Regions from separate parts of the Homo sapiens genome. Here regions 1 and 3 are each linked to region 2. Evidence: promoter capture Hi-C in human tissues and cell types (Jung and others, 2019). All regions are on one chromosome and are shown on one strand. The core of a region is centred on a gene start or on the middle of the fragment in contact, and the rest is flanking DNA. Distances in the headings are between cores, read along the strand shown.

Region 1 (2,945 bases), core at 409-2,908, 230 kb after region 2:
ACCGAATTCTAAAGGACTCTGGATTTAGAAGCTGCCTTTACACAGCTGGAGATAGCCTCAGTCTCCTGGTGTTTAAGCAAACCCAGTGAATTTTAAAAATTAATCTCATTTTATAATTCATCAACCAGCCACCAATTAAACAAACATATACCGAGTGCCTGTTATTGTCAGGAACTGTGTGAGATGCTGGGTTTACAGTGATAAATGTGATATAACTCCAGCTCTCAGGAACTCAGGATCTGGCAAGAATGCCCTAATGACATAGTCATGTGGTACAGCCATCTTGGAAGGCTAGCACAAGTAATTTGCTATTGATAAGAAAGTACTAAAGTTGGTGAAATGTTTACTTTTTAAAATTTGTTATAAAAAACAGATTATTATCCTTATAACTTTGTAGTCATTTACTGTCATTGTGATATACATTATTTAGCAGGAATAAAAGGGCTAGAGTTACAAATCATAAACTACAAATAATCCACACACTATCTTGTCTTTGCTACAGCTCACCATCTGGGTAAATCAATGGGGGTGTGTCAGCAAATAAAAATTATCTATAACATGTCCAAGTAGGAAAAAGTTGACAAGCATGAGTCCAGAGGCCAATGGGAGAGGGAGACACACAGATAAGCAATAATTACAAGATAGACTGTTAAGTGCTATAATAAGCACTTGGTATATGCATAGGAAGCTGTCAGCATGCAGAGTATCTAATATAGTCTTAGGGGTAAAAGAGAAAACTATGCAGATAGGAGAGGGTGGGGTTAGGGTCAGAGGAAACCATACGAGATATAGCTAATATGGGATAAGACTGATCAAGGTGGGCAGAAACAGGAGCTGAATTGGGACAGCTTAGGCAGAGCACCGGCTGGGGACCTGGGTCTCATACATCTTAAAGCAAAACAGAATTTGGAGTTTGAGCTCTCAAGTTAAACTGGAGAAACCTGGCAAAGCTCACAGTCCAGTACACAGGCTGCAGTCAACTTCCAGAGGTACAAGGACAGCGGGGGCCAGTCAGGCTGCACAGCACAGGCAAAAGCATGGTGGCATGGGTCAGAGGTCAATATTTGGGCTCAGCATTTGGAGAAATAATCTGGAAAGAGAGTCTCTGCAACCATGAGAACACGCAGGACCACAGAGCAGCAGGGGCAGGGTATAAGTGTGAGGCCAAGATAGGCCTGTCTGACCTGTGCTCTTGCAATAAGCTCTGATTTGGGTATGGTATGTGGAAGATAAGGGCTAGCAAGTGTGTGCAGCTCCAGAATCAAGCAAGTAGAAGATGTAGAATAAAAATAATACAGTGGGCAGGTGCGGGTGGCTCATGCCTGTAATCCCAGCACTTTGGGAGGCTGAGGCAGGCAGATCACGAGGTCAGAAGATCGAGACCATCCTGGCTAACACGGTGAAACCCCGTATCTACTAAAGATACAAAAAAAAAAAAAATAGCCAGGCGTGGTGGCGGGCACCTGTAGTCCCAGCTACTTGGGAGGCTGAGGCAGGAGAATGGCATGAACCCAGGAGGTGGAGCTTGCAGTGAGCCAAGATTGCACCACTGCACTCCAGCCTGGGGGACAGAGCGAGATCCTGTCTCAAAAAATAATAATAATAATAATAATAATAATAATAATAATAATAATAATAATACAGCAATATCCCCGCCACTGAAAAGCTGCCTAATAAAGGAGAAAGAAACAGGTAAGCAAACAAGCTCTAGAGATGCTGTGACAGAGCTTGTACAGGTGTAGAAGAGTGCAAAAGAGGAAGTGGTTGATTCAGCCTGGCAAGAAAGCCTTCATGACACATTCATGTGGTTGCATAAAGTTTTGAAATGTAGGTGACTAGTGACTAGACTTGGAAGATGAGTAGGTGTTTGCTTGGCAGACCTCAGAAGAAAAGGGCCACTGGGAAAGACATTCTGACCAAAGGAAGCTGCAGCATGAGCAGGAGTCAGTTGCACACATGGAGCAGTCTGGAGCATCAGGGACAGTGTCTTAGTTCATTTGTGTTGCTATAGAAGAGTACCTGAGGCTGGGTTATTACAAAGAAAAGAAGTATATTTGGCTTACAGTTCTGCAGGCTGCAAAAGAAGCATGGCACCAGTATCTGCTCCTGGTAAGGCCTCAGGAAGCTTCCAATCATGGCAGAAGACAAAGTGGGAGCAGATTTGTCACATGGCAAGAAAGGAGGAGGAGAAGGAGAGGGACAGAGATTGAGAGAGGGAAGGAAAGTGCTATGTTCTTTTTAACAATCAGATCTCATGGGAACTAACAGAGCAAGAGCTCACTCATTACCTCAATGATGGCACCAACCCATTCATAAGGGATCCACCCTCATGATCCAAACACCTCCCACCAGTCCTCACCTCTAACAATGGTGATCAAATTTCAACATAAGATTTGGAGGACACAAATATTCAAACTCTATCAGTTAGCGTGTGGACAAAACATTGAGTCAGGATGGACTTCATAATTTGTGGAGTACAGTGCGGAGAGATTTTTGAGCCTGAGACTCTGCACAGAGGGCAGAGTGGAGTGGGACTAGTTTAGATTTTATTGTGTAAGTCACTAAAGTTATTTTAAATTTTCATTTAACAGCTTTATTGAGATATAATTCACATACCTATGATTCACCCATTTAAAGTGTACAATTCATTGATTTTTAGTTTATTTACACATATGTGGAACCATCACCAGTCCATTTTAGGTTTTCATCATGTCAAAAAGAAATCTCACAGCCTATGTCTTCCACTAGCCCTAAACAACCACTAGCCTACTTTGTCTCTATAGATTTATCTGTTCTGGACATTTGTTCTGTGTGGGAAATGCACGAGGGGAGAAGAAAAGACACAAAAACAATATGTTTAGGGGTAAACAACCTTTATCCCATGTAAATGGCAATGCAGATATAATAAGCAAATGATATAATAAGCAAATTGCAATGGGAAGGGG
Region 2 (2,988 bases), core at 113-2,612:
TAGAAAGTCAGCATGAATCAGCCGTAAGTTCCTTGCCTCCAGACCCTATTGTCCTGCCTCACAGCTATGTAGTACAGAGTCTGTCACAGGCTACCCAGAAATGTACACAGAGACTGTTAACAGGCTACAGAACAGATTGGGAAAGGGCTCTGGGGTTGTGACCCTCACCAAGCACAGGCATCTTGCATCTCTGACATGTTAATGGTGGATGCCAGCACTCTCACTACTGCCTCGGAAGCTTACCTTGCTGTTAGGGATGGGTTCTCGATCTCTACACTTGCTATACTCCTACAGGTGACCTGGGAGTGTAGCTTTCTGTGCCTTTTTTGACTCATGGCTTCCAGCGGGTACACATGATTAGTTAAACAAGTGTTCAGCATTTCAGCGGCAGCCATTAGACTCTTAACTCAGGTGGGGAATTCTCCAAATACGGAAGGGGATTCAAATGGGGGGCATAATAAATGTATATAAATGTCCATTAAAGGCAAGTTGAGTTGGAAGTGATGACAATATATTTGAGTAGAAACATCTAGCAGGTAGTTGGAAATGTGGCACTCGTGTTCCCCAGAGAGCTAGTTACAGATTTGGGAAGTTGAGTTGTGATTGCTTTTAAAATCAGGAGTCTAGAGAGAATCTAACTCAAAATTTTCATCCACATATGCAGAATCTCAATCTGAGAGTTGTTCATTCCTATAGATGTGCTGGCCACACCAACCCCCAACATCTATTATGAAAATTAGGAAATTCACACTCTATTATGGAAAATAGGAAAAATATATAGATAATACATGCAAAACAAGTGGGAGGAGAGAACTACGGATCGTGGAGAGCCTATTGCATATTATTATTTTACAAATATTTAAGTGCCAACTATGTGTCAGGCACTATGCTAAGGTGATTTAATGTTGAGCAAAACCCGACATGTCCCTGCATTTGAGGAACTGAAAGGTCTGAGGGAGGGCCTAAGGAGCTTGGGCCTTAGCTGGTTACAAAGCCATATATTATGCCATATATATTAATGAGCAGCAACGCCTCCCGCAGTATTTACAGCCCACGCGTGGCAGTCCTGTCCACCCTGTCCCCGTTCGGTCCAGCCCGAGGCGGTGGCCTAGATGCTTGATGGGCACTGTCAGCCTGATCTTTGGTGGTCTTCCCGCTGTCTGTTCTCAGCTGCTGATTCCAGGTCCCAGGAGTCGACTTTGGCTTGAGGAAGGCAGGCGCCTTAGGTGGGGCAGTTGACACTCGCGCAGCGCCTTGCTCACCTGAGTGTGTGGCGGCGCGCGGGTTTGGGCGGGGAGGGGGCCGGGCCTCGGGAAGGAGGCGCGCCGCGCAGTTTGACCCCGGCGGCGTTCCGTACCGTCGCGGATTTCGGCGGCGGAAACATGGCGGTCGCGGCCGGGCCGGTAACGGAGAAAGTTTACGCCGACACTGGCCTGTATTAGCGCGTATGGCCTCGGGCCCTCGTTCCCCAAGGCGTGCCGCCTCCCTGTTCTCAGTCGCAGGCTGAAGCCTTGTCTGCTCTCCTCCTTTTTGGTTTGGTTTTGGAACTGACTCCGAGGGTTGGGAGAGCGCGTTGGTGGCGACGGCCGAGTCAGGTAGGGAGAAATGGGTGGACGGCAGGGCGGCGAGATCTAGGCATAGACACTGCCAGGGCTCCGCGTGGTCCGGACCCCAAGCTCCGCCCAGTCGGCCTCCCAGGGCCGGGGTAGGATACCTGCCTCTGGAGGAGTTGACAGTGGTGGTTGGAGATTGGAGGGTGTGGGAGCGCCTCTCCGTATTTCGCAAGGGTTCCCCCTCAACTGGGCGCCACGTTGTGGTCGCGTTCTCCGAGGCAGAGGATGGTGGAGAACAGCCAAGCTCCTTGTCGGACCTCCCACATCTCGCTAGAAGGAGGCCGAAAGGGAGAGAAATTGCTGTTGCTGCTCTAGTGCTGAGGAGTTTGATATTCTAGATGACATTTTCCTCGTATGAGATGGCTCAAAGAGTTATCAGTAATTCAGAACTGAAGCACTGAAATTCCCTGTTTTTTCAGTGTAGTTCTTTCAGCCTTGACACTTCTAGATGGGACAGAGTTTCTGAGTGAAAGATAATGCAAGTGATACGGTATGCCTCAAGCCATTCCCTAGAGGTAGGACATGGAGAGAGAATTGGTTTGGAAGAATTTGGGTGAATTAAGTAAAGACTGGTGGAAAGCTGAAATAGAAACCAAACATTCATGGACTCTCCCTTAGTTCTACTAGTTATTAGTTGTGGGATATAGCTAAGTTCTGTATTCTCTTTAGGCATTAGTAAGTGTCCAATGGTGACTATTGTTGTTAAATGTAGTTATTTCTTTATTAGTCTTTATTTTTCAACAAGTATTTATTGAATACCTTCTTGATGCCGGATTTTTGCTAGTCACTGGGTGTACAGTATTGAAGACAAACCCTCAGAGACCTTTTGATCTAGTGGGAAATGCAGACATGAAATAAGTGATGGTATGTAACAGAGAAAGTATGGGGGTCATGTAATGGGGAGGGGGCAGGGATAATCTCTTAAGAAAATGATTTATCTGAGACCTGAAGAGTTGGAATAAGCCAGGTGTGAGCACTGGGGTGGGGCCAGGAGGAGGAAAAGGAGTGTACCTGGCAAGGGAATAGCATTTGTGCAGTTTGTAATTGAAAGGTCAGTAAGGTTGGAAAATAAAGTGTGAGAGGAAAACTGGTAACAGATAAGGCAGGAGAGTTATTCAGGCCCAACACGGAGTGCCTTATAAGGCACTGTAAGGAGTTTTGACTTTATTGCTAAGGGTGATGGGACGCCATTGGAGCATTTTACATAGTGGAGTGCTAAATTTTGGTTTTAAAAAGTACACTTCTTAGAGAGGGCAAGAGTGGATACAGGGAAATGTTCAACATGATGGTGGCCAAAATTGGGATGGTGACCCTGGGGACGAGAAGTAGAAACATTTAAAAAATGTTTAGGAAGAATAGTAGACAGGACTTGGTG
Region 3 (3,200 bases), core at 107-2,606, 210 kb after region 2:
CTTCAAGACAGCCATGAGATTAATAAATTGTGTCCGTTATCATTTACTATGTAATTAGGTTTCTCGCTTATTCCAAAAGATAATTGGTACATCATTGTTGATGGAATGAGCTTCTCTTCTGGCATCTGTTCATCAATGTTTGTTTGTTTCACATTAACTTTTAAAACCTCATCAACTTAGCAATATTTATAAAGCATCTATTACATACTTGGGATTATAAATGGCACTGAAGTTACAAAAAATTGCAGTTGGTCCTTCCTAAAGAGCTCACAATCTACAGAGAGTAAACGTCCTGTGCTAAAACATATCATAATTCCCTGATAAACAACGGCATGGGAAATAAGCATGGTGTGGGCCATGCACAGGGAGGCTAAAGAGAAATAGAAAATGTTTCACAAACAGGTATCATTTGAAATAGTTCCTGAAGATACCAATCATATCACATTGCAGCTAAAGGGAATCAGAACAGTAGGCAGTTTTTTATCAACCCACTGAAGAATATTAAGAAGCAGCTTAATCTCAATTTGTTATCTGATTTTTAAACCAAATGAGATAACACAAGTTTCCAGCACATCAGAGAAAGTTAGTTCATGAGGAGACAGAGTATGCATGTGATTGAAATGAGTGGGGTCTCTCAAATTGTTATTATTACAAGTTGGGGTAGCTGTCTAGGTATATATTATTCTTAACTCTTAAGTAGTAAGTCCTGTGTAACATAGATGTGTTTTTTGCGTTTTGTTTTTGTTTTTGAGACAGAGTCCCACAATGTCACCCAGGCTGGAGTGCAGGGCACAATCTCTGCTCACTGCAACCTCTGCCTCCAAAGTTCAAGTGATTCTCCTGCCTCAGCCTCCAGAGTAGCTGGGATTACAGGCTCCCACCACCAAGCCGGCTAATTTTTGTATTTTTAGTAGAGATGGGCTTTTACCATGTTGATCAGGCTGGTCTCGAACTCCTGACCTCAAGTGATCTGCCCACCTTGGCCTCCCAAAGTGTTGGGATTACAGGCATGAGCCTGATGCCTGGCCAGATGTTCTTGACAAAAGTAAAATAGAGAATAACTTGGTGGTTAAATTTTAAAGCTTAAGTTCCTTTGGTTCAGTGAAAAGAACTGGGCTACTGCTGTGTCCACTCTTCATTACTCTAACAGAGACTCAAGTGAGGGGGACCCAGTGAGAGCAGGGGGAGTCAGAAGAGAGTGAGGCTTAATTAAGTCAGTAAATCTCAAAATGTGCTCCTCAGACCAGTAGCCTCAGAACCATCTGGGAATGGCTGGAAATGCAAATTCTCAATCCCCACTCCAGACCTACTAAATCAGAATCTCTCAGGGTGGGGCCCATCCATTTGTGTTTTACCAAGCGCTTCAGTAGTTCTGCTGCCCACTGGACACCCAAGTTTGAGAATCACTGCACTAAGGTAAGAGCTCATTCATAAACATGCCAACAGTTAGTGGCTTTAATTTCACCAGCTACCTTCAACTTATGTATTAGTAAGAAGGAAACATGGCAGACAGGAGAATTTAAGCAAGAAAGGTTTTTTTTTGCTATTTTTCTCAAATAAATGTATGCAAATATTTAATAGAGGGTACACAAGTAAAAATACTCTTTTCATTTTAAATAAAATAGACCTGCAAGTGGTGGAATGAATGTTTCAGTCCTATTGCCTCTTGGGCTTCAGAGAATCAGTGGAAGCTGCAGCAGAACCAGTCTTCACAATGATAAAGCAAACTATCCTGGATTTGTCCTGACTTGAGGAAACCAGGGTGACGCTCCTTGCCCCAAACACATGTCCACCATCCACAGGCCACATGATCAAAATTCCATCATGAAGACATTTTTTTCCGGCTTAAACTAAGCATTCTCTGAGTATCTAAACTTACATACGCAAATCCCTCCCCCATTCCGCCACCCAAAGAAGAACACCTTAAATTGTCACCAGTTTGATTCAACCATGGATTCATCAATCATAATCTCTTCTTCTGAAATGAGAAGTCCAGAAAGGAGTATACGCCAGGTATGTGGGGAGCAGAATAATGTAGCTAAGTGAGGTGGGGACATCAGTCATTGGAAATAAATTTCAACTTCTTCACCCACATAAGACCCTGGATTCTTCGGAGTCTAATTCTGGCCTAACTTTAAATAAGCCCTCCACCCTTTCAATGCCTCAAATTTCCAGCTGTCTAAAGTCTCTCAAGTTTAGGGTTTTAAAAATACTTGGTGGTCTTTGAATGTTAAGTAGGTAAAGAGAAAAAAAAAAACTCTAAATTTAGAGTGTGTGGGAGCTGGGCATTCTGGCTAACTTCACTCATGACTCCTATTACCAGTGCCAGTCTAAAGATCATCTAGAGTTCTGGATGAAGTGAGGGAAGTCATTTGTCCAGCACTCAAATATTATCTCCAGGTGACAGCTTATTTTACCCCAGTGAAGGAAAAGACTGACTAAATTATAGTCAAATATTCATGGATGTTCAAAGCTTTGCATTACTCTTATAAAAATAGAGATACAAATAGTCTCTATTTTTATAGAGACTAAACTGTGGGGAGGAGGCAAGTGTTATTTTCAGTGACCTTCACTACCTATATTGTTTATTTTAGATACTTTTGTCTCCTCATACGAAATATTCTGATAAGGCAGGAAGAAAGAGTTCCTTATATTTTATTACAGAACTAAGTGGTTAATTCATAACTTAGGGCTTTAAACCACTTCCCCCACTGCTTAATGAAGAAAAAGATGTCTCAAGGTTTTCTTTCTATTCCTGGTAGCTGAGTTCTGAAGAGATAAGCAACCAAAACTGCTAACATCAATCACTCTTGGGAAGATAAACTGCCTGACCTTTTGGGGAGCCATTTACACTTATATAACACCAAAACCAAGGAGCTTGAAACTCTTATGGGAGGTTATCGTGCATACACAATCTTTAAGTATTTACTGTTGCCACTCCTTAAGAAGGGAAATAAACACAAAGAGTTATAAATATACTTTCCTGAACCTATATACCGCAGCAGGGAGAGATCAAAGGAAGCCCCCCACTCCGCCGCAGCCTTCTCAATCCTAGCTCCATCCAGTCCTCTACCTCATTGCTGATTCCCCACACCCACCCACATACCCAGAAATCCTATTCCTCAGAAAATGGCACTACCATCCACCTGTTGCTCAGGCCTAAACCATAGGAATCTTCCTGGATTCTTCTTTTTCCCTCC

What was found. The method cuts DNA at HindIII sites, captures the fragments that hold promoters and counts their contacts. A contact is called where the count stands out against the background at its distance.
Region 1: a fragment that was not itself captured here is called in contact with the fragment with the promoter of TMEM168 in region 2 in 1 of the 25 tissues and cell types used here (mesendoderm cells).
Region 3: a fragment that was not itself captured here is called in contact with the fragment with the promoter of TMEM168 in region 2 in 1 of the 25 tissues and cell types used here (spleen).

The regions. Positions count from the first base shown.
Region 1 is chr7:112,555,722-112,558,666 of GRCh38, reverse strand. No RefSeq gene overlaps it. Among named protein-coding and RNA genes, the nearest start is that of LINC03076, 61 kb to the left of the region's middle. The HindIII fragment of the contact is 4,517 bases long and covers 1-2,945 here.
Region 2 is chr7:112,788,767-112,791,754 of GRCh38, reverse strand. TMEM168 (transmembrane protein 168) reads left to right here and starts at 1,362. Exons shown (of 5, transcript NM_022484.6): 1 at 1,362-1,595. RefSeq lists an enhancer at 974-1,103. The HindIII fragment of the contact is 15,678 bases long and covers 1-2,988 here.
Region 3 is chr7:112,580,862-112,584,061 of GRCh38, reverse strand. No RefSeq gene overlaps it. Among named protein-coding and RNA genes, the nearest start is that of LINC03076, 36 kb to the left of the region's middle. The HindIII fragment of the contact is 6,242 bases long and covers 1-3,200 here.